Linked DNA regions of Homo sapiens: all the other regions are linked to region 6. The links are contacts of gene promoters, found by promoter capture Hi-C in blood cells and fetal thymus (Javierre and others, 2016). All regions are on one chromosome and are shown on one strand. Each heading gives the region's core, a stretch centred on a gene start or on the middle of the fragment in contact. The rest is flanking DNA. Distances are from core to core; before and after follow the strand shown. Region 1 overlaps PHACTR1 (phosphatase and actin regulator 1). Region 2 has its middle 45 kb from the start of CD83. Region 3 has its middle 62 kb from the start of CD83. Region 4 overlaps PHACTR1 (phosphatase and actin regulator 1). Region 5 overlaps PHACTR1 (phosphatase and actin regulator 1). Region 6 holds the start of SIRT5 (sirtuin 5). Region 7 overlaps PHACTR1 (phosphatase and actin regulator 1).

Region 1 (3,544 bases), core at 209-2,708, 320 kb before region 6:
GGTGACACTCCATGGTAGGGGCCCACCAGTTGTGGCCCACAGACTGAACCCACCCCACTCTCTGTCTTTGTCAATAAAGCTTTATTGGAACACAGTTACACTCATTCATTTACCTGCTCTCTGTGGCTGCTTACACACCATAATGGCAGAGTTGAGTAGCTGCAACAGAAACTGTATGGCCCACAAACCCAAAGTATTTACTATCTGGCCCTTTGAAGAAAAAAGAAATGAGACATTTAAGGACCTAGACTGAGGACATTAGAGAATGTGGCCTTCCTCTCACAGTGCTGATCCTAGATCTATTTAGAAAGTGCATGTGCCCGAAATATCTCCATTAGAGAAAGAAACTAAATTCATCCTCACACACATAGGGATTTCCTTTGTGCTCATTACTCTAATCATCAAAATAATCCCATTTACCTTTACTTCTTAGTCCAGATCCGCCTGTGAAGCATCATATAGCATACAGATTATGCTGGGAATACGGTCCAGTTTTTCAAACTTGATTTATTACCTGAGCAGTTAGAAAAGCTACTTCAAGGACAACCAGGTATCATTGAAAGCAGCTCAGCTCAGCTGCCGGCCAGATAAGAAGGGGCTGGCTGTGCAGACAGACTGAGAGAAGGAATCTGTGTAAGCAGAAAATGTATGTTGTCCTTAAGAAAGGAAGGCCACAGCCATGCCATGCAGGCTTAGCTTGAAAATAAATATCAGCAGGTGTGAGAAGTATGTTCCTGTTTTTGCAGCTGAAGCTAGATTCCAAGTCCTGCAGGAAAAGGTGGGGGCTGGAAGGAGGGTCGCCAACGAGTAAGAGCCAGATACTAAAACATGACTCCTTGGGCGCAAGACAGGTCTGGGCGCAAGACAGGTCTATCCTCAAGACAGGTGGTGCACAAATGGAGTGTTACACAGATAGGAAGAGATGTGGCAAGAGCTCTGGCAAATTGCAAAACCGTGGAATATGCTTGGGATGTGTGTAACACTGTGGTGAAGAGAGGCTGACAAATCCTCTACATGACACTTATTGTATGAAGAAAACATATCCATTTTACACACACACACACACACAATCAATCTTCTGATCAGTGAAAGGAGCTACTGACAGTGGTCCCTGTGCATCGTCCACATGCCTCTCCCATGAGTGGCAGCCACCTGAGAAGGGCAGCTTTCAGGGCCCCGAGTGGCTGTGTGTCCCTGTCTGCTGTGGGTAGGATTCTGCCTGCCAGGCACACTCAGCCTCCCAGTGACCTCTTGTTAGAGACACATCGGGTGGGATGCTGGCCATAGGCGGGCGCTCTCCTAGAAGGGGGAGATGGCTCCTGTGACTGAGGGGAACGTTACACAATCAGTCGTTCCCTCAGGATGGAGGCAGGTGTTTATCTTCACTGCAGGAGTTGGTTTGTCTGGTGCTCCCTGAGAGGGACATTACGGTCACGGGTGCAGGGCTGCAAATAGGATCTGTCCAGGTTCTCACCGGCCTCCAGCTGGGGCATTTCAGCATCAAGAAACTGCCTGCCCATGTGCTGGGGGCGCTGTGGTCTCTGATGTCTGTCTGGCCTCATATAGGGGAGGGTGGGGATGTATTCATGGTGCATGTGTGTGTTGAGTGTATTTGATGTGACCGGAATGTGAGAAAATAAAACAAAAAACCATAAGGAAGGGAAGAGAACACGGACTAATGTGTGCCAGGCTGAGCTCTGACAGTCCTATGGCAGATACCAGCTCTAAATTCAGCCTCTCTTTGAGTCTCCTATTTGAAAGCAGTTATCTGCGCTCTCAAGGGCTCTCTCTCAAGCCATTGAGTAGATTAGCTGAAGAATTAGTGAAAAATCATTTAAATTTATATATATAATAAGGGGATTGAGAGGCTGAGGCAGGAGGATTGCTTGAGGCCAGGAGTTCAAGACCAGCCTGAGCAACATAGCAAGATCCCCATCTCTACAAAAATTTAAAAATTAGCTGGGCATGGTGGCACACACCTATAGTCCCAGCTACTGGGGAGGCTGAAGTGGGAGGATCACTTGAGCTCAGCAGTTTGAGGCTACAGTGAGCTGTGATTGCACCACTGTACTCCAGCCTGAACAACAGAACAAGATCCTGCCTTAAAAAAAAAAAAAAGAAAGAAAGAAAGAAAAGGCCAGGAGGCACGGTGACTTATGCCCATAATCCCAGCACTTTGGGAGGCTGAGGTGGGCAGATCGCCTGAGCCCAGGGCAGATCGCTTAGACCAGCCTGAGCAACATGGCAAACCCCTGCCTTTACAAAAAAAAAAAAATAGAAAAAAAAAATTAGCCAGGTGCCTGGGAGTCAGAGGTTGCAGTGAATCAAGATCGTGCCACTGCAGTCCAGCCTGAGCAACGGAGCAAGATCCTGTCTCAAAAAAAAAAAAAAAAGAAAAAGGAAAGAAAGAAAAGAAAAAAGTCTAAAAAAGAAAAGGATAAAGTCTATTTGAAACTTCCATTTGACTCTCCATTTTCCATTCTTTTCCTTCTTTCCGTTTCCCATATAAATAGATCCTTTCCTGGATAAATAACTCATTCCATTATTTCCATTATTAAAATTCCATCTATCCTGATCTCATTATAATTAACCAATTTTCAAAGAATGCAAAAATACAAATCTACACTGGTTAGACATTCTTAAAATCTGCCATGCTGCTGTTATTAAAAAAAAAAAAAGTTTTGGGGGAGAGGAGAGGGGTCTCTTTGTTGTTGTGTCACATCTGCAGAAAAATGTATTTTGTGAAAGAGTATCGGCCGCAGGAAAACACTTAGAGATTAATGAGAGTATCTATATTCATACCATTCCTTTGGGCTACAAGGCTATTGGCTTAAAAATGAAGCTTTATGTTTAAATTTATGGACCATGGGTCAGGAAAGGTAGGGAAAATGAGACTTTTATTAAAGGAGAATTATAGAAAACTTAGCAAAATATTGCAGCCAAAACCCCCCTCCACTTGAGCATCTGAGATTCCTTGGGGTTTTTGTGTTTTCGTTTCCAGGTTTCTAAATAGCATGAGATCTCATCTGAACTTGAGTTGTTATTGTTTCCAGAAACAAGTTCAGAAGAGACTTTGGGAGACAGCTGGAAGGAAAATAGCTGTGGCCCCACTGAATGAGGAGGGAAAGGATCGGGATTCCTGCCACCCGTCTCCTGGCTTCTTCCCCACCCTCTATCCTCAGCCCTCTCCTTGGGAAGTATGATCGCCCCAAAATGAGAGATTGGCCCTTTGCGGGTGACATTTAAAACACATGAGCTGCACATGTTCTGTAGCTCCTAGGAGGAATCCACGTGTTGCAGTCAGAGAAAGACATGGAAGGAGGCACCTTGTTGCCTATTTTTAACGTTTCATCCCTTGCTTACCTTTGAAAAATGATTGGTGGGTGCATGTGTTGTTTATTGAGGCCCAACTAAGCACAGGCATTGGAGAAATCTAGAACCATGGTACTTTGTGAATAAATGAATGAATGATGACATTTTTCTGTTGTCTGGGCTGTGCATATCAACCTAACCACAATATTGCCTGTGACAGTCCCTCTCTATA
Region 2 (3,361 bases), core at 353-2,852, 500 kb after region 6:
CTGGGCAACATGGTAAAACCCCATCTGTACAAAAAAATACAAAAATTTAGCCAGGTCTAGTGGCCCAAGCCTGTAGTCCCAGCTACTCGGGAGGCTGAGGTGGGTGGATCACCTGAGCCTGGGGAGTTGGCTGCAGTGAGCTGTGATGTCACTTACTGCACTCCAGCCTGGGCGACAGAGCAAGACTCTGTCTCAGAAAAAACAAAAACAAAAACAAAAAACAAGTTGTGGCCTGTCATCTCAGCACTTTGGGAGGCCGACGAGGCGGGCAAATCACCTGAGGTCAGCAGTACGAGACTAGCCTGGCCAACATGGTGAAACCCCATCTCTACTAAAACCACAAAAGTTAGCCGGGCATGGTGGCACATGCCTGTAATCCCAGCTACTTGGGAGGCTGAGGCAGGAGAATCACTTGAACCCGGGAGGTGGTGGTTGTAGTGAGCTGAAATTGCGCCATTGCACTCCAGCCTGGGTGACAAAGTGAGACTCCGTCTCAAAAAAAAAAAAAAAAAAAAAAGTGGTCCTAGTGCTTTTTTGTGAAAAGGGAAATTCTCAATATGATGCAGACATACCCGCTGATTCCCGTAATTTCAGGCTGTTAGCAAGAAAAGCCAAGGGGATTTTTAAAAGCCCATGAGCCACATTCGGTGAATACACTGGGCATGTGCTCCACTCTCCCCAGCATCTGACTCATCTTAACACACAAACCAACAAATTCTCCACCCGAAGCCAGAGTGCAGCCTGACCAACATGCCTCTTGGTTTTTAAGGGTCTTTATCTTTTGAGAGGATAGACACTAAAACAATTTGTACTGGCCGGGCATGGTGGCTCACACCTGTAGTCCCAGCACTTTGGGAGGCCAAAGTGGGTGGATCACCTGAGGTCAGGAGTTCAAGACCAGCCAGGCCAACATGGTGAAACCCCATCTCTACTAAAAATCAAAAACTAGCTGGGCTTGGTGGTGCATGCCTGTAATCCCAGCTACCTGAGAGGCTGAGGTAGGAGAGTCGTTTGAACCCAGGAGGCAGAGGTTTCAGTGAGCCAAGATCATGCCACTGCACTCCAGCCTGGGTAACAGAGCAAGACTCCACTGTAAATAAATAAATAAAATAAAATAATTTGTACTGAATAAATGAAGACTAGCTCAGAGAATATAAAAGCATAAACATTTTATTTTGGTAAACTCTCTTTTAGTTTTTGTTTATACATCAATATTTAAATGCAAATATAAACAGAATATACCTTTTTATATAATTTATATTGTTTCAATATAATATGTACATTTTCTCATGATGGCCTATAGCCTTTGTAATTACCAAGTGGCTGTATACAGGGAGATAATATACCATAATTTATTAATTATGCTTCCATTTTTGCATATGCATTTCTTTTCCAATTTTTTGCTATTTTGATGTTTTTCCTTCATAGAGCTTTTTCCTTCACTTGAATTAAGGAGGCATTTTTGGGATAAATTCTCAAGAATTGCATAATTGGAGCACAGAATATGAACACCTTGTTTAAATGAATATATATTATCAGTTTGCTTTGCCAAAGAGTTGTATAAATTGACAATATCAACAGCATTGAAGGGTGTTCTAATTTTATCATAAATTCACCAGCATAAGGTCCTGTCTTTAAAAACCCTTTGTTAATTTAGAAGATATATGATGATTATTTTAAAAATTTACATCAGCTTACTGATGAGATTGGACATTTCCCCATATATCTGTTTCCTATTTGTATTTTCACAAATAGGAAAATTGGGGGATTTGGGGAGATTATTGCCTGTATCTTTCCCAGTTTATCTACTGGGTAATTCATGTTTTCCCACTACTTTAGAAGGACTTCTTAGTATATAGATACTAACACTTTGCTATTCATATTTGAGATAAATAATTTTATTTTTTATTATAAAGAAGTATATTTTGCATGTTTGAATGTGTTAATTTTTTAATTAAATTGTTACTTTGTTACCGGAAAGGGGTCCCAATCCAGACCCCAAGAAAGGGTGTATTAGTCGGTTCTCACACTGCTATAAAGAACTACCTGAGACTGGGTAATTTATGAAGAAAAGAGGTTTAATTGACTCACAGTTCCACAGGCGGTACTGGAAGTATGGCTGGGAGGCCTCAGGAAACTGACAATCATGGTAGAAGGCAAAGGGGAAGCAAGTATGTGTTACCATGATGGAGCAGGAGAGAGAGCTAAGGGGGAAGTGCCACACACTTTTTTTATTTTGGAGACAAGAGTCTTGCTCAGTTGCCCAGGCTGGAGAGCAGTGGCATGATCTCAGCTCACTGCAACCTCTGTCTCCAGGGTTCAAGTGATTCTTGTGCCTCAGCCTCCTGAGTAGCTAGGACTACAGGCACATGCTACCATGGCCTGCTAATTTTTGTATTTTTAGTAGAGACGGGGTTTCGTCATGTTGCCCTGGCTACTCTCAAACTCCCAAGCTCAGGTGATCTACCCATCTTGGCCTCCCAAAGTGCTTGGCTTACAGATGTGAGCCACCACACCCAGCCACTACGTACTTTTAAACCATCAGGTCTCATGAGAACTCACTCACTATCATGAAAACAGCAAGGGGAAATCCACCTCCATGAACCGATCACTTCCCACCAGCTCTCCCCCCAACACTGGGGATTACAATTCAACATGAGATTTGTGTGGAAACAGAGTCAAGCCATATCTGAGGGTTTTTGTACCTCTCACAATCTGTCTCTCCTGGGATTCTAATGTACAGGTGAGTTTGATAACCACTAGGCTAGAGGAAATGTACTAGAAAACACACACACACACACACACACACACACACACACACACACAGAGAGAGAGAGATTTAATGTCTCAAAATGTGTCTGCTCAAAAGTATCATTCAATAATTTCATGTCTTTTTGTATAAAAGGTCACAGGGATAATATTTACTTCTAAGGAAAATGTCTTTTGATCATGGGAATGATCCAGTTAAAGGGAATAGCTCAACTAAAAGTCAAGGTCTAATTTATAAATGAGGTTTATACTCCCCTTTTCCCCATGGTTCCTTCTTGCAATTTAAATCACATAATGGATTGTCATAAATGGGATCATAGTTTCCTGCAGGGACCCTGCTCTAATTATTGGTTGACTCTTGATTAAGAACCAAGCATGACATAAATTAATCAGAGATACAAGTAGCAGTCTGTCAGAAGAATAACTATTCTGTGGTTAAAATCTTTTTATTTCATATAATAAAACCACAGTTCAAGTCCAGAACCGGGGCCTAATGTGTGGTGTATTCAGATTATACAAGAGATACCTAAACCTACATTAAACGAAGAGGCAGCACACCAGAACAAAGCCCCACTGTGTCATAAACTTCACC
Region 3 (3,452 bases), core at 130-2,629, 480 kb after region 6:
AGTGTGTAGCACACAATTCACAAATAAGTATAAAGTAGGCAATACTCTTGATTATAAATTTCAATAGCCAATTGATTCTTACAAAAGGCTTTTGTTGATTTCTGCTGAATTATTGTATCCATAGTCAACCTGGGGTTCTAATCCAACCATGATTTGACAAAAATCAAACTATGAACTAACGTTTGATTACTATCCCATTCAGCAAAGTCACTCAAAGCATTAACAAATGAGTGTAGTTCTAACATGAATGCTGATGGATGTTTTTGTTTATTCTGAATGAACAGAAAGAAAACCATCAAGATGTGGAAACTTCATTCATTAGTCAGTATGAGTAACAGCACTGAATTAGATCATCAGTATTTTTGAATCGGCTCTCCCAGTATTTTTGCATACTGGAAGAATATTTCCTCAATTTTTGGTGCTACTCACAATCTAGCAGCTATAGATCTGCTTTTCAGTTTTATGACACACTTTTACATTGAATCTGCATCATTAACATTTCCTGTCACCTTTTAAAGTATAGACAAGCAACAAAAAAGCCCTGACTTTTAGTGTTTGCCAATTTTTGTGGTGTAAATACTCCTTGTATGGCTGATTTCCAGCGTGACATTACTGCGCACATTGACCAGACGAGATGTGCATACATATCATTATGTAGTACTTTGACAATACAGGTCCAATAGAAGAAAATAACTCCCAGAGCCTAGGTAATAACAAAATGTAGTAAAATTATTAGAAAGAGATGTTTTGAGTATTTATCACCCTTGTTTTTAATACAATTTAATTGCAATTTTATACAATTTAGGGTTTTGTTTGTTTGTTTGTTTTGAGACGGAGTCTTGCTCTGTCACCCAGGCTGGAGTGCAGTGGTGCGATCTCGGCTCACCGTAACCTCTGCGTTCCGGGTTCAAGCGATTCCCCTGTCTCAGCCTCCTGAGTAGCTGGGATTACAGGTGACCACCACCACGCTGGGCTAATTTTTGTATTTTTAGTAGAGACGGGGGTTTCACCATGTTGGTCAGGTTGGTCTCGAACTTTTGACCTCATGGTCCACCCGCCTCGGCCTCCCAAAGTGCTAGAAATACAGGCATGAGCCACCACGCCCATCATTTTAGTTTTTAATAATAGCTGTATTTAACAACCAGCTTGCAAAATCCTGAAAATTTAACAATCAGCTCCCGTGGGTAGTACAAACTGGCTCCAGCACCCCACCACTGTCTGCATATCACTCCCATTTAAGTGGAAAAGATTAGTTTCTTCTCATAAAGTGCTGTGACACTTGCCTTCTAAAATGAAACTTATGGCCGGGCGCAGTGGCTGATGCCTGTAATCCCAACATTTTGGGAGGCTAAGGCGGGTGAATCATGAGGTCAGGAGTTCGAGACCAGCCTGGCCAACATGGTGAAATCCTGTCTCTACTAAAAATACAAAAATTAGCCTGGTGTGGTGTCACGCACCTGTAATCCCAGCTACTCGGGAGGTTGAGGCAGGAGAATTGCTTGAACCCAGGAGGCAGAGGTTGCAGTGAGCTGAGATCATGCCACTGCACTCCAGCCTGGGCGACATAGCAAGACTCTGTCTCAAAAAAATAATAATAAAATAAAATAAAATGAAACATATAAACAGGTGCCAATATATGTATGTCGAATGAATGAATTTAGAAGAATATTTAATCAAAGCATGCTCTTGATTTTTACAAAATCATACAACTGAAAGTAGAATAACTACATCTGAACTAGCAAATACTGTACTTACTGTAATTAGTCCCTGTTCTCTGCTGCAGTGTGATTTTCCACCCTTCTTCTAAAGGTACAGCTTGAATTTTGAAACTAGGTCCCTACAGTTTGATCCTATCTTGTTTGACTTGGAAGAATAACTCATAACACAGCTGATTTTTAAAATACTGGTAGGTTCCTTAAGACTCTGAGTGTGATGTCTGCTCAGGTGAGCATCTGCTAATTAGCTAGCTGGGATCTGGTCCTTGGGGGACTTGTTTTACCAGCTGCTTCAGGTTGTTTACACTATGAGACACTCACCTTTATCCCTGCAATTAATTAGGGGTGGGGCCTTCACAGTCTTGCTTTTGATTCACAAATGACAAACAACTTCCCTCTCAGCACACTCCTCTCCGCAGTGTTATTCTTCTGTGACTGATCTGTTTGTGGGTTACAGAAGGCAAGCCTAGAGCTGTATTGAAGTCTCTGCTTTTCAGGCACAGAATAAGGTAGCCATCCATCAGATGAGCAGGGACCTATGGCACGACTGTTCTCTTGTCTTTCATTTATTCTCATTCACTCTCACTCACTCAAATAATTAATAAGTACCCAGTGTGATTATTATTATAATCTAAGCAGTGTGATTATTATTATTATTATTATTATTATTATTATTATTATTTTTTTTTGGAAACAGACTTGCTTTGTCACCCAGGCTGGAGTGCAGTGGCATGATCGCAGCTCCCTGAAGCCTCAACCTCCCAGGCTCAAGCAATCCTCCTGCCTCAGCCTCCCAAGTAGCTGGGACTACAGGCGTGCGCCACCACATTTGGCTAATTTTTTGTATTTTTTCATAGAGACAAGGTTTCGCCATGTTGCCTAGGCTGGTCTTGAATTCCTGGCTCAAGTGATCCACCCACCTCAGCCTCCCAAAATACTGGGATTACAGGCATGAGTCACTGTGCCTGGCCATGAATTCTTAATACTTAAAAAACTTCATTGACTTTTTCTTACAGAGGCAAAGCGTAATCATCATTGACTGTAGAAGACAGTAATGAAATACAGATAAGCAAAGACAAAAGAAAAACATCCATAATTCACTCTCTCAAAGATGTTCACTAAGTCTTCCAGACTTTTTAGTGCCTATATAACATAAGATTGCAAAATTGGGACCATACTTAGTCTAAGGTTGTGAGTTTTTTAACTTAAAAATATATAATGAAAAAAGTTACATAAAAACTTTTTAAAAATGTATTTTAGTGATAAAGTTTTGCTCTGTCTCCCAGGCTGGAGTGCAGTGGCACTATCATTGCTCACTGTAACCTCTTACTCCTGGGTTCAAGCTTTCCTGCCTCAGCCTCCCAAGTACCTGGGACTGCAGGTGTGAGCCACCGAGACCTGCTAAGATTTACTTTTAGTAAGCCTTTAACACTAGTTAGTCCAAGGAGCAGACAAGATGTTCCTTTAGACTCATTGTCTTGAAGGGAAATGAAGTGACCCTTTTTGTAGTCCTGTCCACTCTGGAAGGGCAGCACTGGTGCAGAAGAAACCGAGTGGCCACCGCAAGCCCTTCTGCATAGAATAAGCTGTTCATGGAATGAGGCAGTTGGAGGCCTTGGAATCTTGTCGTTATTTTCTTGTGGTGTCAATTGGATTAGAATCTGTAATTTTGGAAATTAGATTGTTGTTAATTAATGCATATTTCTGTAGTTGCTTCCTTTAGCTTAGTGGTAAAAA
Region 4 (3,221 bases), core at 674-3,173, 350 kb before region 6:
CTCACACATTTTTGGTCTCCAAGAGGAAAGTGGCTGATTATTCTCTCTCCCCTCTGAAAACTCTCTTCATAACTTGTGCAGACTAAATTACAAAAGCTGTTCCTGTTGAAGTTTAATTTGGCTTTCAGTGTCATATTTGTAGATAATAAATTTTCTCTGTCCTTTGAGGAGATTAATGTCTTTCTTTTTTTTAACAGTGGATGCATTTAAAATCAGATATCAGAAAGCAATATTCCCTTTATTACATGTTTTTCTTTAGAAATGATGGTGAAATGGATCCCACCTATTTTAGAGAAAGATTAAGGATTTAAAAGAGACAGTGATTTTCAATTTTATGACCTGCCCTTGATTCCCTACAAGAGTTTCAAAGGTGTTTGCCGGCCAGTAATTCCCCTCCCATGGATGGGTCACAGTGATTTCCTACTCATCAGCCTGTACCGTGGAATGGAGATAAAGTGATGATTACAAAGCCCCCTTGAAAAGGGAGTGCCTCTTATAATGACCCAGACTCACTGTAGATGTCTTGGCATTCATTCCTGTATGAAAGACTGAAAGTAAAGTCTGGGCCTTACCCTTATCCAGTAATGAACATGAAAGATAAGTCAGTGTCTTCATTTTTGAAGTCTAGAGATCCCTTAAAAATATTCGGCCATTGAAATGGTGGGAAAAGGCCAGGCACGGTGGCTCACTCCTGTAATCCTAACAACTTTGGGAGCCCAGGAGTTTGAGACCAGTCTGGCCAACATAGCGAGACCCCATCTCTACAAAAAAAATCAAAAAATTAGCCAGGTATGGTGACACCTGTTAGTACAAGCTACTCAGGAGGCTGAGGTGGGAGGATTGCTTGAGCCCAAAGGTCCAAGGTTGCAATGAGCTATTTAAAAAGAAGAAGAAGAAGAAGGAGGAGGAGAAGAAGAAGAAGGAGGAGGAGGAGGAGAAAAAGAGGAGGAGGAGGAGGAGGAAAGAGAAGAGAAGAGAAGAGAAGAGAAGAGAAGAGAAGAGAAGAGAAGAGAAGAGAAGAGAAAAGGTAGAAAAAGGGAAAGGAGGCAGAAATGGTTATCTACCCGGGCTCTCAACCTATGCATCTCCTACTTAGTTTAACAGAGTTAAAGAGAAGAGTCGAGTTTTCCAAAAAGAAGGCTTGGTAAAGGTCATTCTTGGTGGGAACAAGACCAAGGGAATAGAGTACAGCTTTTCACCTCCCTAAGGCATCCTGTAGATGTGATGAGAGGAAGGCAGTTTTAAATGTGTGCCTTTTATTGACTCGGGACTGCCATTTTCCTCTCAAGCTTTCCAAATATGTCTCTTTTCAGTGTTTCTTGTGTAAATAGCAAGGCTTCTGTTTTAGGGATACTTCTGTTCATTATTTTCTGTTCATTTAAGCTGTTCCATCCTCTAGGGGAAAATGAGGATGAAACAAAGTCCTCATCCTTGTGAGCTTACTCGTTAGTGGGAGCGACAGGTAATAAGCCTGTGAATGTGTAATGTGATGTCGGGCAGGGACGGGGCACTGAAGAACCATCATGCAGGGTCATGGGAGGAGCGTGGTGGTGATGCCTCTCTATCCTCAAGGAGACGTGTTATTAAAGTGGCCACAACAGATACAAAACCCACTGCACGACCCCTTTTTATCAGCAGCGCTCCGTTGTGCAAGGCTGGATTATCCAGCCTGGTAATTATTCTGTCCTTCCTCTTGTCGCCTATTCTCTCCGCACACCTACTCACCCCCAGCCATGTGCTACTCACACAAAACTTGTATCCCCAAGTCTAGAATTCAAACCCCCTCCCTGTGTGTTCCATAATAGCGCTCATCATGGGACTCTTCACAGCAAAATTCATAGCAAGAGAGTAGCTGGATTGTGTGAACATCTGTTATCCTTGCTTTTTGTTATAAAAATATTATAGTCCACGGTTTTTAAAATTTGCGGTATAAATTGCATTTCATAGTCAGCATATACATCTACAGAAAAAATGATGGGCTTTGCTGATTCTCCAGGAGAAAGCAACATGGTTCATGGAAAGAACACAGGCCCTGGGTGGGAAGACCTGAGTTCACATCCTGCTGTGATCACTGCCGAGTGATCACTGTGTTCTCAGAAACCTCATGTCCCCATTCATAAACAATCAAGATAATAACAATACCCTTCTTAACTCTGCAAGTTTTTGTGGTGATTAAATGAGATGATGAACATTTACAACACGCTTTCATAGGGCACTAAAGGACCATCTGCGGTAGCCATGTGGTGGTTTTGAAAGATGCTCCTGCTCCTTCATCCTGAGCTGTGGAACCCGCTGGTATCTTTAAGACATTGTGTGGAAATATTCCGAAATGGTGCATCTATCTGTCCAACATCTTGTGAATATCATGGAATGCTGTTCAGTTTCTGCATGTTCATCCCTATTACATTTGTCAAGAAAATGACATTATTTGGTGCTACCTAGGTGATAGGGAGCAGAAATTCATCTGTTTTTCCCTTGGAAAATAATTTAAGGCCTTTGGTCTTTGTTTAAATTCATTATAGAATGTTAGTATAAGAGGAAACCATATAGATCTCATCAAGCTTAATGACGTCACCTTACAAAGCAGCCTAACTTTGGACAGTCTGAATTAAAGTGGGCTGACGGCCTGTGAGTATAGAATTGGAAACTGGAATATCATAAGCTCTCTCTGTTACCTCTTCTGTGCAGACACAGTCCTGGAATGAAGGCCACACGGTACCAATGTGCTCTTGCTTGCATAGATCTCTGTGCCTTAGCTCCTTGAGTTGTCTTCTTAGGAAAAAGACCTCTAGAGCACTATTTCCAAAAATCCTAATGCTCCTTTCACAAAGATAATTTCCCTACAACAGCAAGACTCTATCTAAGGGTCAGGGATCCTAATTTTAGCAAATTAAGTAATTGAAAATGTAATGTGGTGTATTCTGATTGTGTGTGACTTCAATTCAAATATTTGATCAACTTATCCATCAGTTCCAAACACATGTGCAATGTAGAGGTAGAGGCAGGAAGATCATCAGCCTCTGTCTTGGAGAGGCTCACAGTTAATTGGCGTGGGGGGTAAATGCTTAGCCTGTAATTATAACATAATGTGGCAGATGCTATAACAAAGCTGGGAACAGAGGCTATGGATGTGCAGAGAAGGGACTGATTTCCATTGGAAAAATCAGAAAAGGATGCTCAAATGAAATGAGATTTGAGTCATCCCTGAAAGATAGGCAGGA
Region 5 (3,738 bases), core at 339-2,838, 370 kb before region 6:
AGGTCCAAAGTAAAGCCCAGGAACATGAAGTTGCATCAGGCAACTATTGCAGGTGTTCCAAGGACTCTGCTCTAAGAAATAGTGCCCTTTTGTTCAGAGAAAAGGACAAAAGTAAGAGGCCAAGAGTTATTTTTGACTGTGGCTTTTTACAAATGCAATGCTGGGCCAGGTGGCCAGCACTGGGTGGCCACCCACTTTGGGAGGCCGGGGTGGGTGGATCACCTGAGGTCAGGAGTTTGAGACCAGCCTGGCCAACATGGTGAAACCCCATCTCTACTAAAAATGAAAAAAAAAAAAATTAGCCAGGCATCATGGCGGACACCTGTAGTCCCAGCTACTCGGAGGCTGAGGCAGGAAAATCACTTGAACAACCCGGGAGCGGGAGGTTGCAGTGAGCTGAGGTTACACCATTGCACTCTTGCCTGGGCAACAAGAGCGAAACTCTGTCTCAAAAAAAAAAAAAAAGAAAAAAATTAAAAAAAGAAAGAAATATAATGCTGGAACCCAACCTAGAATCCCTGAGAAGAGGAATGAGCATCATTGTGATTCTGATGCACCCCCAGTCCTGGTCCTGAGGACCACAGGGCAGTGAGCACGTTCCATCATTGCCCAGCCTCAGAGTCCTGCTGCAGCACATGTAGGAGGAGCCATCCAGGAACTAGCTGGGAAGACAGGGCTGACCCAAATGGAGCCAGCAGTAACCAGCACAAAACAGAGCCAAATTCACTGGCGCTGCTGACCACCAGGGTTGTAGGAGTTAAGGGAGGAAAGGCTGCCAGAGGAAAGCGGGTCTTCATTTGCCGCTTGAGGGGCAAATGCAATTTTTATTATCAAGGAACAGGAAGGCATTTCAGGAGGTGAGTACAGCAAAGGCCCTGAAGAGAGAAGGAGCGTGGTTATCGGGAAATCCAGAGGCCAGAGTGGACGAGAGAGATGTAAGTGGGAGACTCATAGTAGAGTCCAGACAGAGTCATACTTGGACTTGCAGCATGGACTGAGCATGGAGCCATCATGGACCTCACGCATGCCCAGCAGGTGCTGTAGGGAGATAGATATCTGGTACAGAGTGGGGACAGATCAGAGGGCTGGGACCGCATTATCCACACGATAAGAGGAGATGAGTGTCTAGACTGGTGTAGTGGTCAAGAAGCCAGAGAATACAGAAGTCTGAGTGGGAAAAGGGAGATTAAAAGCTTAGATGGAAGTTCAGAATGACAGATAATATGCAGCTGGTTCCAAATCGTGCCTCTAGTTATGTTATGGGGAATGACTTGGTGTTAAGATGTTGTAAAAATATACAAATAGGCATTGCCACTCTAACAAAGACATGAGCTGCCCAGCCTCTCCTCAGTTATCCACAATTTTAGGGAAAGATAGAGACTGCATGGCTAATTCACAGAAAGCAAGTAATTCTACCTGATTTTAGCCCTTTTCTTACTTTTGTTCATTTTTATGAAATCCACTGAGCCAAAAATGATTTTAAATGATTTGCTTTTATTCGCTGCCCTTTAATTCATAGCTATGTGCATCACAATGACCAGAAAGGAGATGCAGCAGGAAAGAAGGAGGGGGGTTCCCCAAGGCCCCAGCATGCCTTTCCTGGAACAGTAAGAACAACCGTCTCCACTAACTTGGTCCAGCTGGCCTTTTCTTCCTTGCCTGTTTCCATAGAATTGCTGGGGCTCACTTGGCCAATTTTCTAGTGATGAAACCAAGTAGGTTTTGCTATGGAAGAAGTCACAAGAAGTGGTGGAATGTTACGAGAAGCTATTGATTAACAAGATGGGCAGAACTCAATATAATCACTGCTCCTTCCTAGGCAGAGAATTCCACTCTGCCCTCCTGGTTCTTTCTCCTGACCAAGCAAATGAGCACCTACTTGCCTTAGAGAATCAGAGTCTTCAAATGAAGGACTATGGGTTAAGGGTCCTGGAGCAAAATCCTTAACACCTCAGGACATACTGCATTTGCTAGGTTTGCACTGAAGCTTTTTTTTTTTTTTTTTTGAGACAGAGTTTCACTCGCCCAGGCTATAGTGCAATGGTGCAATCTCAGCTCACTGCAAAGTCCACCTCTTGGGTTTAAGTGATTCTCCTGCCTCAGCCTCCCAAGTAGCTGGGATTACAGGCACCTGCCACCACACCCAGCTAATTTTGTATTTTTAGTAGAGACGGGGTTTCACCATGTTGGTCAGGCTGGTCTTGAACTCCTGACCTCAAGTAATCCACCTGCCTCGGCCTCGAAAAGTGCTGGGATTACAGGCGTGGGCCACCGCGCCCGCCTGCACTGAAGCTTCTAAGAGCTATGTAAGTGGACCCTTCAGTAAGATGAGCTGGACAATGGTGTTGAGTTTTTCCGTGTCTCAGCACTTTGGAACTAGCTAGCCTGCCTGTTAAGTTCCTGAATGTGGTGACCTTGCACCATGTGCATGAGGGGTCACAATGAACAGGACAAGCCCTCAGGAATGAACATGCGGAAGCCTGTGGTTATGACTGGTTTGCATTCTGGTGTTGGGGAGCAATCTTATCAGGCCCCCTGAAATGATTAGAATTTTCTGTGTCTCAGCGGTAGGATCAGAAGTTTAGTGTCCATATGCCACAACTGCGTGATCCTAAAATTGTAATCTGTTTCAGGCTCACATCTCCCTCCTAGAGTATCTATTTCTGGGGAAGGTGTGAATTCATCCCACAGCAGATCATCATAACTTTGGCTCATTCTGTAAACATGATTTGCATCTCTTGTGATGTGAGCTGGTCACTGAACAAGATGCTGAGGTTTGAGGTACAATAATAAATTACACACTGTCACTCTTCTCCGGGAGAGGAGACAGTTATGTAAACAGGAAGTGCAGCATAGTGTCTTCAGAGACCCTGTTTCATCATCTGTAAACATGAGATAATAATGGCATCTACCTCAGACTTGTTGTAAGGATTAAACCGGTTAGAATACAAAGAGCCCTTAGAACAGTATCTGGCACATAGTAAGCATGATAGAAGTCTTGATTATCATGACTGTCGTCATTCCTGCTATCATCATTAACACGATTAACACGGACATAATATGCATCCACGTTCCCACTCTCTTTCCACAGAGTGGGAAGAGGGATGTAATGATCAAGGAAGGCTTTTCAGGGGTGATTGTTTGTGAGGTGGATCTTGAAGGGCGACTAGTAATTGACCAAGAAGACAAAACAGAGGAGAATATTCTAAACTGAGGGAAAGTGACATGCAAAAGCCTAGGGTTATGGGAACATCAGGCAGTTTAGGAAACTCAGCAGTTCAGGAGTGAGGGTGGATGGTCTGGGTAATGGTGAGAAAAGTGGGCTGGAACTAAATGGGAGGTGGGGAAGCCGTGAGTGCTCCTCTTCAGTTCCTCACTGGGATAGGGAGAGGCATCTGTGGAAGGTGAGGATCCTGGAGGAGGCTGGGGAAGACTGCAGCAGCTCTTGGGAGAATGGCCAAGGCCACCTGGTCAACTTTGTTGAGCATGGAGACCCTGAATCCATGGGCCACCAAATAAGTAGAATCCACAGGAGAAGTGATCTGGGCCATAGGAGAGATTCTGCTCCAGCTTTTCAGGTGCCATAGGTAAGGTTATTTCCAACTGGGGGAACCAGAGCAGACTTTATAGAGGTACAATGTGGACATGAAGAGATGAACCAAGCAGGAGCCAGCCCATGGAAGGCCTTGAATGATGTATCAGGAAGGTTTAGTCCATGGATGGGTTTTAAACTGGGGA
Region 6 (3,544 bases), core at 674-3,173:
TGGTATGTGTAGCAGCTTGGAACCTTGTCTTTGAAGTCAAAGCACTTAGATTTAAATCCCAGCTCTACTGTTACTGGTAAATTGCGTTCTTTTCCTAGTCTGTATCAGTTGCAAAGAAAGCACACCAACTGGAAAAAACGGCAAGCGGGTTTCATTCCTGGCCAGGAATAGAGAAGGAGTAAACTTTCACTCTAAAGACCCCCTTCTTCCAGAGCTTTGGGAAGCTGGGGAATTGTAAGGCGTTAGATGTGGAGTGGGGAGGTATGCAAGCATATGCCGGGAGGAACTCTAGACGCACAGGTGCATTTCATAAACATGCCTCTTCATACAATGCACTATCAGAAAATGGCGGCGATTCTCTTCTACGGGTCGGGAGTTGAGCATATAATGATGTATTAATGATCTAAAAGTAACAAGGGGTGGCTGGTTCTGGTTTTCTCTGGTTCCTAGTAGGCCTTATCTTTCTCTGGTACTTGGCAAAGGGCAGTGAGGATCCCGGGCCAACCGCAGTTGTTTTAAGCTGGGTTACCTATAGATAAAGAGACTAGGAAAAAAAATCAAACAAACAAAACGGTTTAAAAAACAATGAGCATTTTCAGCTGTCTACTGTTTAAGAAAATAATGAGCTCTCAGTTTTGCCCTCTGAGCGATTTCTCCAGGACTGCCCTGGTAACACTACTACTCAACAGTTTTGTGCTTTGCGCAGTTACTTGACCTCCCTGGGCCTCGGTTTCCCCACCCATAAAGTGGGGATAACAGTACCTATTTCATCAGGTGGTGGGGACGATTTAAAATGGTTAATAATGTGCAGTTCTTAAAAGTGTCTGGCTCAGAATAAGCACCATACACGTTAGGGGGAAAAACAGCAGCCGGATGTGAGGCCCTCCCCAATTTCGTTACTCCATAAACCTCTGAGTTGCTGGTAACACCTGCAGGAATGAGAAGGGCCTCAACATGGGCTGAATTTCCAGCCAAACTGTGGGAAGTGGCTGAGATTTTAGGTAGGCAAAAAATGTTAATGTAACATTTTTGGCCCCCAAGTTCTCAGACCACTTACTTCCCTTTCTAGTCCACTGACATGCCCGCAAGCAATTCCATTCTGCCAAGTGGTGCTGGTGGCAAGCCGGAATCCAAGAAAAGGAAAGACTCCGATTTTAAGGGAACGGGGACATGCGGAGCCACGTGAGTCACTGGGTCCCAGAGCCACGGAAGGCTCTCAGCTCAGCAGTCAGAGTGCACTCGTCATTGCGTTCGAGGTTAGGTGGCCTAGCCTGGGAACCAACTCACCGTCATTTGAAATCGTTTTAGGGAAAATGACCCTAACATTTAAAATCCTCTCTCCTGAAGTTGTGTGGTCCAGCCGTTTGCTGAAGGAGGAAGCAAAGCCGGTAGTAACTCACTACATATTTGGGCAGTGGAATGAACCCTGGAAGCTGACAAAGTCGAAGCAAGTCACTGCGCCGCCCCCCACCCCCACCCCCACCCCAAATAAAAACAGAGAGACAATCCTTCAATTATAAAGAAGACCACGGCGCCCGGGTCTCCGGCAGGGGCCGCTGCAGCCGAGCAGAACGCTGAGCCGCTCCGCCCCACGGCCTCCTCTCCAGCCGGCGCGCCCGCCTCCCGCAGGTGCGTCTCTGCCTGCGCCGGGCCGGGGTCTCCGCGGCCTCTCCCGCTCGGGCTCCGGCTTCGAGGTCCCGACCAAGCACTGCTCTCGCGGGACTGCGCGCACCGCCCAGGGCCTGCCGCGGGCTCGCGAGCGGAGGTGGCACCGGTCCGCGGTGCGCATGCGCGGCCCGGCCTCTGCCCTGCGGTCCCGGGCTGGTGACTGGCTAGCGGTTGGAGGAAGGGATGTGGGGGATGGTGGGTGGGTACAGAGAGCTGGGAGGGAGGCACCCCGGGGGGCGGGGCGTGGGAGACTGTATTCGGGGGCGCGAGCTGCCCCAGGTGAGCCGTGGCTCAGGTCCGGAGCGCGGTCGGGACACAGCGCCTCTAGGAGAAAGCCTGGAAGGCGCTCCGGGGGTACCCAGAGCTCTTAGCGGGCCGGCAGCATGTGCGGGGCCCAAGGTCTTCCGGGCTCTGCGTGGGGGTCGCTGCGGCTGGAGACCAGGGAGGGGGATGGAAACGGGGTTGGAAAGTAATCCCACCCGAGCAGGTGGGCATGGGAGGCCGCTGTGCTGGGGAGCCCCGCGAGGGCTCCGAACAGAGCCTCCCTTTTCAGAAAGGTCACCCTGGTCATTGCAGCTGCCAGGGTGACCGAGGAAGGTGGCCGGGGTGGAGGCAGTGGGCGTGGAGAGGGGTCGGATTCCGGACGTAGTTTGAAGGTGGAGCCGTCAGGTTCTGCTGAGCAGCTTGGCTATGGGGCGTGCGAGAAGGGAAGGCTCAGGGCCTAGTCCCTGGGCACGAGTAGTAGCCGGGAGGATGAAGTCCCAGTGCTTCGGGGGGAGGCGGCTTGAGGACGGCTCTGGAGCTCAGGCTTGCCCGCGTGGAGTGGAAGCTGCCTCTTGGACACAGGGCGGGGAGGCCGCATGCAGTCTGGCGCGCTGGGAGGATGGGAGATCCAGAGGGGCAGGGCTGGAGGGGTAGGAGGAAAACCTGAAGAGGGTGGCGCCCGGAAGCCCGGGAAAGTGATGAACTGGGTCAGAGGCCGGGTATCAACAAATAGGAGGGTGGAGACGACCTTGAGGAAAGCAGGTGATGGAACGGGAGGGAATGGGGCCCCCTAGTGGAGACACCTGGGAGTGATGTATTGCATTTATTTAGCTCTTAGGCGTTCAAAAATTATTTATTGGGAGCCTGTACAACTTTTTGCAGTTCATTGCATTATCCTTAGCATGTATTTTGTTTTATATAAATATATATTTATATAATTATTTTTATTGACAAATTTATATATTTATAGCGTACAGTGTAATGTTTTGATATATGTATACATTGTAGAAAGATTAAATCAAGCTAATTGACATATCCATCACCTCACCTACTTATTTTTTGTGGTGAAAATCTACTCTCCTGGAAATATACAATACATCATCAACTATGGTCACCATGCTGTGCAGTAGATCACTAAAACTTACTCCTCTTACCTAACTAAAACTTTGTATCCTTTGACCAACATCCCTCCCTTCCACATCAGCCCTCTGCCAGGCCCCTGGTAACCATCATTCTACTCTGCTTCTATGAGTTCAACTTTTTTAGACCCCAAGTATATAAGTAAGATCATGTGCTGTTTGTCCTTCTGTGCCTGGCTTATTTTACTTGGCCTCATGTCCTCCAGGTTCATCCATGTTGTTGCAAATGACAGAATTGCCTTCTGTTTTAAGACTGTATAGTATTCCATTGTATATATGTGCCACATTTTCTTTATCCGGTCCTCAGTTGATGGATACTTAGTTGCTTCTATATCTTGGTTATTGTGAATAATGCTGAAAACAACACAGGAATGCAGCTATCTCTTCAACATACTGATTTCAATTCCTTTGTATATATACCCAGAAGTAGGATTTCTGGGTCATGTGGTAATTCTATTTTTAGATTTTGAGGA
Region 7 (3,605 bases), core at 170-2,669, 390 kb before region 6:
TATCTAAGACTCCCCTGGGCTAGGATGAAATCACACAGGGGGAATTGTGATTTGACAAATGGCCATTGTATGGGAGCCTTTGATCCTGCACCGTGGTCCTTGTTTTGCTGAGCTTTAAGCAACATCAAAGTCTGCACTACGTGGCGTGATTGGTGGTCGGCACCGGGAGAATTCTGGCACTTCCCAGCATCGCTGAGTGGCTGCAGCCTGTTAGGTGCAGATGAGAGCTGTCCTAATAGTTTATCCAAGTAGAGAAATTGGACCAGGGTGGAGGCAAACAGAAGACAGGACCTTGGTGCGTGTTGAATGACATGAAGCCCTTTGCTCCCTAAAGTAGGAATTCCCAATCCTGGTCTTCCAATCTCTGAGGCTTGCTGAGTTTTTTCCCAAGTTTTTAGAAATTATGAGAAAAAAATAATTTTAATTTACTTTTTATTTTTAAAAATACATAGAAAATGGCCGGGCGCGGTGGCTTATGCCTGTAATCCCAGCACTTTGGGAGGCCCAGGTGGGCGGATCACCTGAGGTTGGGAGTTTGAGACCAGCCTGACCAACATGGAGAAACTCCATCTCTAATAAAAATACAAAATTAGCCGGGTGTGGTGGCACGTGCCTGTAATCCCAGCTACTCAGGAGGCTGAGGCAGGAGAATCGCTTGAACCCGGGAGGCGGATGTTGTGGTGAGCCAAGATCATGCCATTGCACTCCAGCCTGGGCAACAAGAGTGAAACTCTGTCTCAAAAAAAGTAATAATAATAATACATAGAAAACGTGATGGATTCGGGTTAGAAAGACACAGAGAAAACAGGCAAAATGCTGAAGATCATTGGAAATTTTTGCCCTGATGATTAGACAACATATCTCTAACGATGAAATAAATGTCTTAAAAGCAAAATAACAGATGTTGGTTTCAGAGGCTGACCTTGATTGTTCAGCAGCATCTAGACTCAGCAGGCGGGAAGTGCCACTCTTTCTTGAAAGGCAGACATTGTCTAACTCTGCAATCTCCTTTTCTCTCTGACAGATGGGGAACTCTCTATATCCAATGAAGAGGACTCCCTAGAAAATGGGCAGTCCCTGAGCTCCAGCCAGCTGTCTCTGCCTGCCCTGTCCGAAATGGAGCCAGTCCCAATGCCCAGGGATCCCTGCTCATATGAGGTGCTCCAACCGTCAGACATCATGGATGGGCCAGGTAATGCCCCGGCAGGATTGTAGAGCAGGTCCCAGACACCAAGTCCAGCCAGGCACCAGGGATCTTTGGCCTGGCTGGACTTGGAATTCTATTTTGGACTATCCTGAGCGTAAGGATCTGGAAATTTAGTGAAACAGATTAGTTTTTAGTACATACTGAGTATTTTTAAAAATGGAATATACTTACACTTATTATCCTACAGTGTTTAAAAAACTCTTTACTACCTTAATCTCTTTAAAGATGATATGGCTTATTTTTGTAACATTAATGATTTAAAATATTATTATTTTGTTTTTTAACATTCATCTCTGTTAAGATAAAGCTGAGGAATCCTACATTTCTATATGATACCTATCTAATTCGTCTGTCTGAAAGGTCCTTTAGTCTTAGTCCCAGTATGCCAGTTAATACTTGTATCAATTTACTGGATATAGTCAATTAATTTAATTGTCTATTAAACTGTATATAATTTACTGATTGAATTGTATCCTGCTGATAGCTGATTTTTGATGCCATCTGACTGTCATCTCCTTCTTTGGTCCAAAGGTGGCTGAGTGGCCAATACTCATCCTCTCAGAAGGTTTGCAGAGCGGTCCTAATTTGCCCCAAAATAGGTCCCTCCTGACAGCTAATGAGCAGTGGTACTTGTCAGGAGATGAGTCTGGGAGAAGGAACCTCTTGCAATATCCAGAGTATAGATAGAAAGGCCTCTCTCCCCATCATGTGCAAAATCCACATCCATAGGCAGTCACGTGGGAGGGTGGGAGGGATGAGGTTTCACAGGGTTAATTCCCATGCTTCGTTATGGGACCCGGTGAGTCATTGCTCCATCACTGTGTGCCACATTGACAATAATAGTGTCCCTGAGGCAGGAGAATGTAGTGCTCATGAGGATTTTCAGCAGGGCTTTGGTGCTGCACAGAACACCTGATCAGGGAGGAGGAAGGAGGGTGGGGAGGGGAGGAGTCCCTTACAGGCTTTCTCACTGAGGCGGTGGCGGGAGGTGAGAGGAGATGCAGTGGAGTTACACCCTCCCACCCCAGGGAGGGTTTCCCAATGAAAGCAGTGCTTTTTTAAAAAGAATCCAGACTTCCTTGTGACACTGAAGTCAGATAGATTTGACTGTTATAGTAAAAATCTGTCATTCCAGCAGAATCACAGAGTTTCAATCTGTCATCAGCCAAGCTACCGGCATGATAGGAAGGTGTGTGCCACCACCCAATGACAACTCTTCATGAAAGCCAGTCAGGGGTTCCCCCATGAAAGAAAGGAAGAGGCGCGTCCAATGCAGTGCAAAGAGAAATGGAGGAATTGATAAAAGAAAACTATAGTTGTGGTGAGCAAGAAGAGAGAGGAAAGGGGAAGATGAAAAGGTTGATTTAAAGCATCCCTTGCCTCGTCAAAGTTTACAGGAGCTGGTGGGGGCAGGATGCTGTTGCTAAAACTACAGAATTTGGGCTGAGAGGCTGCTGCTCAGCGCCGGGCACTCCAGAACCTGGAGGAGCAGCCGTCCAGTGCCTGGGGTGCAGCCTATGAGGTGTCAGCGTTCCAGGCTGTCATCTGTACCCAGTGTCGCAGATTTGAGAGCAGAGACAGAGCGGACCCAGTGGACAAAACTGAGCCCCTCCACTTGTTTGAATCCACTCCCTCTTGCCCCTCAGCAAAGGGCAAGCAGGCCCCAGCGAGGCTGCTGGCATTCAGTTCTGGTTTGGTTTAGAGGGGCTCTGCATCCTGGGCCTTCTGCACTGGCCACCCTGGTGATTCCTGCTGTGCCCCATGAGTCCCATCTTAGAGCATGTGTAGGGTTTGCATGACCAAAGCTGAGTTTGAAATGGTCAAGTGTTTGATGGTTTTGAGAAAACATCCTCCTCCTCTTTCTCCCTGTTGCTCTTCCCGCCTCCACTCTCTCTCTTCCTCTGCCTCCTCTCTCTGTCCTCCTGCTTCACTGGATTTCTGGCCTCCTCGCTGTAGCTCTCTACACATGCGTGGCGGCCTGAAGCATCGGTGCTCCGCTGTGTTGCCAGCCCGAGTCCCTGTCCTGTGTTCCCCGCTGGCCCCGCCTGCACTGCGTTTGTGTAATGTCTCCTGTGTATCATGTGGTTGTCCCCTCAGTGTCTGAAGAGAGTCCCTCTGCCAGTGAGTCTGGAGTCCTCCTGTCCCAAGATCCTTCAGCCAAACCAGTCCTGCTACTGCCCCCCAAAAAACCTGCTGCTTTCCCTGGAGACCATGAAGAGACCCCAGTGAAGCAGCTGCCCCTTCTCAAGCAGCCCCCGGCCCTGCCTCCCAAACCCACTACCAGGATTGCCAACCACTTAACAGGTGAGTGCAGACGTCTTCTGGGGCAAGCAGTCCCTCCTTCCCTTCAAGGGATTTTCTTTTTCTCTTGTTCTTTGAACTGAGGCCTGAAGGCAGC

Evidence for each region. Contacts are between HindIII fragments. The CHiCAGO score rates a contact against its expected background, and 5 or more counts as called.
Region 1: a fragment that was not itself captured here is called in contact with the fragment with the promoter of SIRT5 in region 6 in 3 of 17 cell types (neutrophils, monocytes and erythroblasts); the score reaches 6.8 in neutrophils.
Region 2: a fragment that was not itself captured here is called in contact with the fragment with the promoter of SIRT5 in region 6 in 3 of 17 cell types (naive CD8 T cells, total CD4 T cells and naive CD4 T cells); the score reaches 6.2 in naive CD8 T cells.
Region 3: a contact is called between a fragment that was not itself captured here and the fragment with the promoter of SIRT5 in region 6, in 1 of 17 cell types (naive CD4 T cells). The highest score is 5.8, in naive CD4 T cells.
Region 4: a fragment that was not itself captured here is called in contact with the fragment with the promoter of SIRT5 in region 6 in 1 of 17 cell types (naive B cells); the score reaches 5.0 in naive B cells.
Region 5: a contact is called between a fragment that was not itself captured here and the fragment with the promoter of SIRT5 in region 6, in 7 of 17 cell types (monocytes, M2 macrophages, total B cells and 4 more). The highest score is 6.6, in monocytes.
Region 7: a fragment that was not itself captured here is called in contact with the fragment with the promoter of SIRT5 in region 6 in 1 of 17 cell types (monocytes); the score reaches 5.5 in monocytes.

Annotation. Positions count from the first base shown.
Region 1 is chr6:13,249,951-13,253,494 of GRCh38, forward strand. The region is part of intron 10 of PHACTR1 (phosphatase and actin regulator 1); the gene reads left to right. Among named protein-coding and RNA genes, the nearest start is that of TBC1D7, 77 kb to the right of the region's middle. The HindIII fragment of the contact is 2,763 bases long and covers 78-2,840 here.
Region 2 is chr6:14,071,590-14,074,950 of GRCh38, forward strand. No RefSeq gene overlaps it. Among named protein-coding and RNA genes, the nearest start is that of CD83, 45 kb to the right of the region's middle. The HindIII fragment of the contact is 8,249 bases long and covers 1-3,361 here.
Region 3 is chr6:14,053,664-14,057,115 of GRCh38, forward strand. No RefSeq gene overlaps it. Among named protein-coding and RNA genes, the nearest start is that of CD83, 62 kb to the right of the region's middle. The HindIII fragment of the contact is 3,354 bases long and covers 1-3,056 here.
Region 4 is chr6:13,217,892-13,221,112 of GRCh38, forward strand. All of the region lies in intron 8 of PHACTR1 (phosphatase and actin regulator 1), which reads left to right. Among named protein-coding and RNA genes, the nearest start is that of TBC1D7, 110 kb to the right of the region's middle. The HindIII fragment of the contact is 1,272 bases long and covers 1,288-2,559 here.
Region 5 is chr6:13,200,494-13,204,231 of GRCh38, forward strand. The region is part of intron 7 of PHACTR1 (phosphatase and actin regulator 1); the gene reads left to right. Among named protein-coding and RNA genes, the nearest start is that of TBC1D7, 130 kb to the right of the region's middle. The HindIII fragment of the contact is 794 bases long and covers 1,192-1,985 here.
Region 6 is chr6:13,572,678-13,576,221 of GRCh38, forward strand. It overlaps SIRT5 (sirtuin 5), which reads left to right and starts at 1,924. Exons shown (of 10, transcript NM_012241.5): 1 at 1,924-2,067. LOC105374937 (a long non-coding RNA gene) reads right to left here and starts at 1,757. Exons shown (of 2, transcript XR_926497.4): 1 at 1,288-1,757; 2 at 1-544. RefSeq lists a silencer at 1,477-1,996 and enhancers at 1,689-2,275, 2,207-2,686, 2,276-2,861. The HindIII fragment of the contact is 7,984 bases long and covers 1-3,544 here.
Region 7 is chr6:13,181,495-13,185,099 of GRCh38, forward strand. It overlaps PHACTR1 (phosphatase and actin regulator 1), which reads left to right. Exons shown (of 15, transcript NM_030948.6): 7 at 1,025-1,192. Among named protein-coding and RNA genes, the nearest start is that of TBC1D7, 150 kb to the right of the region's middle. The HindIII fragment of the contact is 5,224 bases long and covers 1-3,605 here.